Linked DNA regions of Homo sapiens: region 2 is linked to region 1. The links are contacts of gene promoters, found by promoter capture Hi-C in human tissues and cell types (Jung and others, 2019). All regions are on one chromosome and are shown on one strand. Each heading gives the region's core, a stretch centred on a gene start or on the middle of the fragment in contact. The rest is flanking DNA. Distances are from core to core; before and after follow the strand shown.

Evidence for each region. The method cuts DNA at HindIII sites, captures the fragments that hold promoters and counts their contacts. A contact is called where the count stands out against the background at its distance.
Region 2: a contact is called between a fragment that was not itself captured here and the fragment with the promoter of PRDM2 in region 1, in 1 of the 25 tissues and cell types used here (pancreas).

The regions. Positions count from the first base shown.
Region 1 is chr1:13,698,826-13,703,401 of GRCh38, forward strand. It overlaps PRDM2 (PR/SET domain 2), which reads left to right and starts at 1,363. Exons shown (of 10, transcript NM_001393986.1): 1 at 1,363-1,475. RefSeq lists a silencer at 1,116-1,885 and enhancers at 3,869-4,218, 4,279-4,328. The HindIII fragment of the contact is 18,174 bases long and covers 1-4,576 here.
Region 2 is chr1:14,037,834-14,042,267 of GRCh38, forward strand. It overlaps a transcript of KAZN not described here. Among named protein-coding and RNA genes, the nearest start is that of PRDM2, 340 kb to the left of the region's middle. The HindIII fragment of the contact is 4,746 bases long and covers 127-4,434 here.

The sequences.
Region 1 (4,576 bases), core at 113-2,612:
GTAGAGACGGGGTTTCACTGTGTTAGCCAGGATGGTCTCGATCTCCTGACCTCGTGATCCACCCGCCTCGGCCTCCCAATGTGCTGGGATTACAGGCTGAGCCACCGCGCCCGGCCTAGCCTCATTCTTTTACAATAAGATAACATGATATATGTTGATACAACACGTTTTCTTTCTTTTTTGAGATGGAGTCTGTCTCTGTCGCCCAGGCTGGCGAGCAGTGGGGCGATCTTGGCTCACTGCAAGCTCCGTCTCCTGGGTTCACGCCATTCTCCTGCCTCAGCCTCCGGAGTAGCTGGGACTACAGGCACCCGCCACGTCGGCCGGCTAAATTTTTGTAGTTTTAGTAGAGACGGGGTTTCACCGTGTTAGCCAGGATGGTCTCGATCTCCTGACCTCGTGATCCACCTGCCTTGGCCTCCCAAAGTGCTGGGATTACAGGCGTGAGCCACTGCGCCCGGCCAACACGTTTTCTTAAGATTAAACCTGTTACATAAATGATCGTTCATAATTTTTGGAAGCACACCTGCCCTTAGTATCCTGTTTTTCCACTGGGTGCTTTCTGCAGATGGCCAACGTAGCCATCACATTCGGATTCTTCCTGACTTCATTCTCAGAGGATTACTTTATCTTGAAGTGCTGAAGGCTCCAGGCACCATCTATAACGACAACTCCCAACTTTCCAGCTCATCTCCAGCCTGTGCTTCTCCCCGACTCAACTCATTTTCAACCACGTGCTAGGCCTCCACCCTTGGATGTCGAAGAGCCATCTCCAGTTCCACCCAGTTCATCTTCATCAGAACATCTATGAGTCGTCGTCTCTGCAGTCCATTTGTTTGCCCGCTTGGGAACAGCAAGCTCCTTAAGGGCAGGACTACTACCGCGCTCTCAGAGGCGCTGCACTGGAACATCGCGGGCACAGGGCAGCGTTGGTCACTGCTCCTGGGTACTAGGGCAGCAAATAAACCCAGCAGCTGCGTCTGTCTGCCTGGAGTTGGATCTTTTTGGTATAGATCCAAACGTAGAAGTATAAGGTCTACGTTTATGTACTTGTCAGATATTTAATGACCTCCAACGATAGACATGCCCCCCCAACACCTCCTTCAGTCTTTTTGATTCTTTGAGAATCTTTGAACCACGCAGGATCCTAGCCCTAGGGTGCGGTCGGACTTGCCGCGACGCCAGCCGCCGGGGTTCCTTCCCGAGGCGCCGCCATGGGATCCGCGGTGACCTACGAGGGGCGGCTGGGTGGTGGCCATTGGGCGACGGCGCAGGGTCAAGGGCCGGGCTCTGGGATCGTGGGGAGACCGGGGGTCCCGGAGCCCCCCAGCCCCGCAGGCCACTGCCTCGCCGCCCGACGTCACTTCCGACTGGAGTCAAGATGGCGGCGGCGCGGCCGCGGGCGCCGGGGCCGGCGAAACAGCGGCGGCGGCGGCGGCCCTCGGTGCTCTGAGGCGCTGGCGCGGCGGGCGCGGGTAAGGAGTGGCGCGGGTGGGCGGCCTCTGGGCTCGCGCCGGGACGCTGGTCCCTCCCCCCGAGGAGCGCGGCGGCGACGGCGGCGGCGACACGCTGGGGACCCGGCGCCGCAGGGATGGCCGGGTCGGCGGACGCGCCCCCTCAGAGGTCCCGGGCGTGCCGGGGGCCCCGGGACGAGGCGCGGGCCTCCGGGTCGGTGGCCCCGCGGGTGGGTGGCGGCGCCGGGCTCCTCCTTGTCGGCCGTGGGGTCCCTGCGGCGAAGTTCGGGATTCGGTTTGTCGCCGTGAAGAGCCGCGCGCCCCGCGGGGGACGCGTGCGGGCTGCAGAGACTGGCCGGGTGCGGGCGGCGGTGGGGCCACCTGGGGCCCCACGTGGGGCCGGGCGCCGTCCCAATTGTCAAGCCGCTGTGCTTTTCTCTTTTGTGTTCCCACTGAGTGTGTCTTGCACATTTGCACTCCAAATTTGTTTTGTGTCTTGCGTCTTTGTGTTTCCCAAATAGTTTTTGTGTGGTTTTAACCTGGAGATTGTCTCCCTCAATGTTCCCATAGACCCACGGGTGTATGTGTGTGTGTGCGCACGCGCGCGTGTGTGTGTGTTACAGACGTGCAACTCTGTTACTAATTTTGCTAATAAAGCTATCAATGAACCTCTTTTGATGGTGGTAAGTGAGACATGAAGTAAACCTAACAGGTCAGTGTCATTCCCCAAACCTTCGTGGTTCTTTCGATCCACGCGTGAGCCACCGACCCTCCGGGCTTGTAGCTTTGTGTCGGGCTGTGAGCTGCGGCAAAGACCCCATAGTTAACCGGGAAGTCCTGATTTCCTTAACTACGCAGCTGAAATTTCCCCTAACAGAAATTTCGTGCTGGCCCCTCACTTTTCTTTTAGTGTTGTATTGAGATTTTGGGTGTATTTGAGACGTGGAACGTCTTTTGCTGAATCCCAGTAGGTCCTTAGATCCCTTTAACCAGACACTAGAAGAATCATTTTTACCCCAGAACTCGACTAAAATGTTTAAGTTTTTGTTTACTCCAGGTTTATTAAAAGTGACCGAAACTTTTAACAACAAATGGAACTCTTCAATGATTTCTTTTACAATGGTACACACTTCGCCTCGGTTTGATCAGTTGTGTCCAAGTATTAGAAAAATGTAGGCCTTTTAAAAAAAAACATGATAGGAAATTTACATATATTAAGGAGGAGGAACTGAGACACACTGTCATACGTTCTTTTTTAGTAGGGTTCTGTGTTTTTGAGATGGTCCAAACTGCCCCATCACTCTTGAGGCTTCCGGACTAACACTTATTGGCCAAATTTTTACATGTAGAATCTTAGTTTAGCCTTGAGATGACCTTTAAAGATCATTTTTATTAAACCCCCTCATTTCGAGCTATGGAAACAAATCAAAATTCACAGTGGAACTAAAACTCATTTACATTTTCTGTGATTCCAGGGCTCTTTTTACTCAACACATCTGTTTTGGTTTGATTGAAATAAGTTAATACATTTTAAGTGCTTAGAAAAGTGCCAGAACATGATAATACTGCTCAGTAAATGTTTGCTTTTGTTGATTCTGAAGGTGGTTTCTTTAATTGAAAGGTTGGTATGTTCAGGTTTGTTTTTTCCTTATTTTGTGGACAGGGCCTGAAACAGTACAGTTTAAATCTGTAAGAATGTATTAATTTTGTAAGTACAAAACATAACAAAAGATTCTCACTGTAGAAAATTGGAAAGTAGAGAAAAGCACAAAGAAGAAACAGAAATTGGGCATAACCTTCCCCTCTTCAGATAACCATTGTTAACGTTTGGCAGATCTTCCTGTCTCTCTTGGTGTGGATATGCGTATTTCTTTCCTTATTTTACAGTTCATTCACATATATATATATTTATTTACATTTTATACAGGATTGATAATATAGTGTGTATATTGTTTGCAACCTGTCTTGCCTTATGATACGGTGAGCATGTATCCATGCCACTAACTAGTCAATATTATGTTTAATGGCTATTTAATATGTGGATGGGCCGTAAGTTATCAATCAAGTCCATATTGATCTGTAAGGTTTCTCAAGCCTGAGTTTTCTTTTCATTAAGATTTGTTTGAAAGTTTTTTTAAAATCGTGGGTTTTAAAGTTCTGTAATCTTTTGAGATTACAGTGAAAAATATAAATTCTGCTTTTTAGCATCTAAATAAGCATTTTTCTTGCGGGTGCAGTCATAAGAAGTAACACTCAATTTCAGCTTCCTTTCTTCCGTTCTTGGCTGTGGCTGTGCAGTTATGTACATATATCTGCGCCTATTCTTTTGATGATTATTTTACGTTAGATGTTTATTTATTCATGAGACTGTTTCTTTAAGCAGCCTGTTTCTTTTCAAGTTCCAAACCTGATTTACAAACCCTTTTTAAGTCCTGTTAAATCATAGACTTTCCAGGATGGAAAGCACCTTAGGTTATTTACTATTTTCATGTCTTCTGAGTAGCTTTTCATGTTATTTTTAATACTCATGCAGAAAAAAAACCAAAACAGCGGACTTCTACTAGAAAACTCCATAATGGGGAGTGGAAGAGGAGGAGGTTGATGGTTGGGGGAAAATCGTCAAACTTGCATGACGATGGGTAGCTAAGGGAGTTTCCAGATGATGAGGGACATCACCTGACTGTCCTTACCACAGATAACTGCCGCCCTGTGTCTAGGGCTTCACGCTTTGTGCGCTGAGCACCAGCTATGCTGTCACCTATGGTTACAACATTTGGTTAGAGGCCTGGGGTGGTGGTCCATCTCTCTCTTTTTGAAGCTACAAGTTTCTAGTTAGAGCTATAAAAACCACCTTTATGGAGTGTCTGAAAGCTGTGGACTCCATTACTGAAAACAATACTTAGCTTCCATTAAAGCAGAGTTTCTCAACCTCTGCACTTACTGACATTTGGGTGAGAGAATTCTCTGTTGTGGAGGACGATCCTGTACACTGTAGGATGTTCAGCAGCATCCCTGTCCTCTATCAGGGAGATGCCAGTAGCACCTCCTTCCAGTGTGACAGCCAGTAAAATCTCCAGACATTTCCAAATAGCACTTGAACCGCTGCAGTGAAGGAAGGCTCA
Region 2 (4,434 bases), core at 1,250-3,749, 340 kb after region 1:
CTGCACCAGTGGGTTTGTTTAGGCTGCTCTCTAATGGGCCCATGCTTTACTAAAAGCCTAGGACGCATTGCTTGCCTGCACTGGTGCATATGTAGAACCCTGAAAGCTTTGGGTTTTAGGGGGTGAGAGGCTGGCTACCTGCAAAGCTTAAGGAAGGGATTAAATTCACTCAACCACCCACCTGTCCATCCATCCATCTGTCCACCCATCTATTCATCCATTCATCCATCCATCCACTTATTTATTTGTTCAGTAAGGTTTGTTGGGCACCTCCTATATGCCAGGCTCTGTTTTAGGCACCTAGGACCCTCAGTGAACAAAAGTGACAAGCAATACTCTATGAGCACAAGTAAGTTACATAGTATTTAGAAGGTACTAAAGGATATGAGTAAAGCAGAGCAGGAAAGGGATCTGGGGGTCTGGGTGGGGCAGGTGCAGTTGTGATTTTAAGTAGGGTGGTGAGGTCAGACATCATTGAGAAGTTAACCCTTGAGGGATGATTCGGAGAGTGAAGAAGTTAGCCATATGGTTCTCTGGAGGGAGAAAGTTGCAGACAAAGGGAGCCCCCAGGTCAAAGGCCTTATGCAGGAACATCCTGCACATTTAAAGGACAGCACCTGGGACAGGTGACCTCAGAAGAATAAGCCTGGGGGAGAGCAAAAGGAAATGAGGTCTGAGGGCAGGGCTCCAGGTTGCCCTCCTTTTCAATATACCTTTCACTGTAGGACTGCAATTGGGTCATGAAAGTGGGATGCTGGGAGCTGAGCGACAACCATAGACACCAGTGCCTTCCTCCCTGGGCTCCACTGAAGAGAGTCCTCGGGAGGGGTGCAGGGTCTCTGCCTTTCAAAGGACACAGGAAACCTTGCCTTAGGTCATACCTGTGATGAAGCTGCAGGGGGTTCAGGAATCCATGGAAGCAGTGCAAAGCGAAGCATGGAGTTGAAAATGAGATAAATAGATTTGGGTGTGAATCCGTTTTTCCAATTCCCTTTACAAATAACTCACTCTCTAAGCTTCAGTTTCACCTCTGTAAAAGTAGGGATTAAAGGCCAGGCGCAGTGGCTCATGCCTGTAATCCCAGCACTTTGGGAGGCTGAGGCAGGTGGATCATGAGGTCAGGAGATTGAGACCATCCTGGCCAACAAGGTGAAATGCCATTTCTACTAAAAATACACACACAAAAAATTAGCTGGGCATGGTGGTGTGTGCCTGTAATCCCAGCTACTCGGGAGGCTAAGGCAAGAGAATCACTTGAACCAGGGAGTAGGAGGTTGCAGTGAGCCAAGATCGTGCCACTGCACTCCAGCCTGGCGTCAGAGTGAGACTCTGTCTCAAAAAAAAAAAAAAAAAAAGTAGGAATTAAAGTAATAGCTATTTGAGAACAACGTATCTAACCCTGAAATTAAGTTGCCTGCTTCCAGACAAGATGGTAAATTGCAGAGCCAAGACTTCCACTCTCTACGTCTGCCTCCACGGTCTCCCTATGAGCTGCCCTCTTATCAAGGCATACAGCAAGGACCAAGTCAACCAATAAAGTGTTTGAAAGAGGCTGGCAAATTGTCAAGTGCTGTATCGATGCACTTTGTCATTGTTATTAAAGATGGGACTTGGGGTTAAGTTCTGAGACGACCCTAACATCTAGCAATGCAAGATTGTCCACATGAGTCGGCAGTGGGCTTTGAGTGACAGCTGAAAATTCTGCTGCTGAAGGTCACGGTAGAGCTTGGCAGGGCTGAGCATGGTTAATAGATTTGATCATCATGTTTTATATTTAAAACTTTTATTTACACAGTATAGTTTAGCAATCGCTGCTGCCTGAGCATTTTACTAATTGATTTATGTTAACTTCCATGCATGCTGTTGATCAATATAAACAGCCTTGTAGTGTTGCATCCTTGGAGATTTAGAGAAAACCCTGACATTCATGCACTCAGTATGCTGGGCGACCTCTCCAGCCCTCTTCCACAGGGGAAAGGAGCACAGATAACTGTGGATTATCTAGATTTTTCTACATTGCCATGTGTGCCTGTTTCCAATCAATTCCAATAGACAAGCTTGTACAGCAAATCTTTTTTAACATCAAATTGCTAGCAACGATACTGACATGCATATCACCCTTAGGCTGGGGATTTTTATGAAAACGTTAGATAAATCTTACTTGGGTAATAAATTCATCTGGCTGAACTTGGTGGAAAAGGATGTGTGTGTGCACGTGTGTGTGTGTGCACGTGTGTGTGTGTGCACGTGTGTGTGTGAGAGAGAGAGAGACAGAGAGAGAGAGGTTTTTTTTCTGCTTGTGATATTTTTAACTGGAGGGATTTCATGTTTACCTGGCTCAGGCAATAAACCCAACCTGGGTGACTCATTTCCACCAAATGTGAGCACCCTAAAATAGCATTTACATCTGACCTTTTCAGTTTGAAAACAGCTGACTCTGTAACAGGAAATTGAAGCTTCTCGGGGAGAAAAGGCCAGGCTGAATTAGGTGGAAGGAGTCAGTATGGGAGCCTTCAGATCTCCCGTGTATGTGGCCAGGAGTGCTGTGGGAGGTCAGCGGGGGATGGAGGGGATTCCTTCCATTAGACTCGAATAGGCTTAAAAGCCTGAGCAACTTTCCTAAGGGTCTTTAAGAAAGCCTTGCTAGGCTGGGCACGGTGGCTCATGCCTGTAATTCCAGCACTTTGGGAGGCCAAGGCAGGCAGATCACCTGAGGTCAGGAGTTTGAGACCAGCCTGACCAACATGGTGAAACCCCATCTCTACTAGAAATACAAAAATTAGCCAGGCATGGTGGCGCCCGCCTGTAATCCCAGCTACTCAGGCTGGGGCTGAGGCAGGAGAATCACTTGAACTCGGGAGGCGGAGGTTGCGGTGAGCCGAGATCGCACCACTGCACTCTAGCCTGGGAGACAGAGCGAGACTTCATCTCAAAAAAATTAAAATAAAATAAAATTAAATTAAATTAAAATAAAATAAAATAAAATAGAAAAGAAAGCTTTGCTATTCTTGTTCACTTTGGAAAACCAATATTTTCCTGAGCTATTAGGAGTTAATATAATAGATATAAACATTAAATTACATTTTTAAAGTACAGAGAGAAGCCATTTTTTACCTTTAAAATAATTTTTATTTTAACCAAGTAATGCACATGTATAGTTTCAACATCAAATAATGGTGAAAGGCTTCTGACGGAAAACAGCAGTGCCCCATTCGCTTGGCAGCTTCACTTTGCTCCTCAGAAGCAACCACCGCTGAATTCTTTTAGCTGTTTCTTCTGGCATTTTCTCCAATATTTTCAAATCACATCAGTGTATTATTTCATGAATGATCAATTTTGAACAATGTCTGTTGCTTTCATATTATACCTAGGTGAGGACTTCTGACTTTCTTACACCCCTCTTTCTTTTCTCCTTATACCCCAGTAGTATAATTCCACGTTTTGTTGTAATTACTATTGTTTCCATTATTATGACTATGCAGATATTGTTTACTTCTAAGCCAGGGAATGTACTATGATTATACCTTTATGATTTTATTTCCTTTCTTCTCAACTTACTTATAAAATCTTCATTTTCCCATTTCCTGGATTTATTTCAAGTCTTTATCTTAGTTTTCTTGTATTCTCCAATAGCTGTATAGAATGCTCCTCAATGCAATTTTTCAACTCAGCCAAACCTGTCAGATAACCTACCAGTTTTATTTATTTTTTCTCCTTGATTTCTCTCTCCTGGAGCCCTCCCTTATGCTCCCTTTTGGCTTGGTTCTTCTCTAAGACTGCTGAACAGATTTTATCCTGGGGTCTCTCTTCCATTATCCTGGAATTCCCTTTACCTTTCTCCTGTGCTAGATTCCCTATTTCTTTCATCCAAAGTCTTCTTTTTCAGTAGTTACTTCCCCATGTTAGTGGACCTCCTTCCCTTGTAGTTTCCTACAGAGTACTAGAGAATTAACTTCTTGTATGACTTTGCATGTCTGAAAATGTCTTATTTCACCCACACCCCAATGGATAGTTTGGCTGGGTATAGAATCTTTCTCTTACAATTCTGAAGGTATTGTTTAATTTTTTTCTGGCTTCTGGTTGTTGAAAAGTCCAGTTCCGTACTGTTACCTGATCCTTTGTGACATTCCTCTCTGAATGCTTTTAGGATCTTCTCTATCTGTGATTCTAGAATAATTTCATTATGATGGGTCTTAGTGTGGGTTGGGCTTATGTCTGGTACTGGGAAATTTTAAAATGTTTTTTCTTTGTCTACTACTTATTGTTTTCTCTGTTCTCTCTCTCTGGAAATCTCTTAGTCAACTGTAGGACCTCCTGGATTGACCTAATTTTCTTTTTTTTTCTCTTCAGTTTTTTTTCCCTTTTGGGAAATTTCCTCAGCATAAATTTCTACTCCTTTTACAGAACCTGCTGCTCTTGATTCCAGAACCTTCT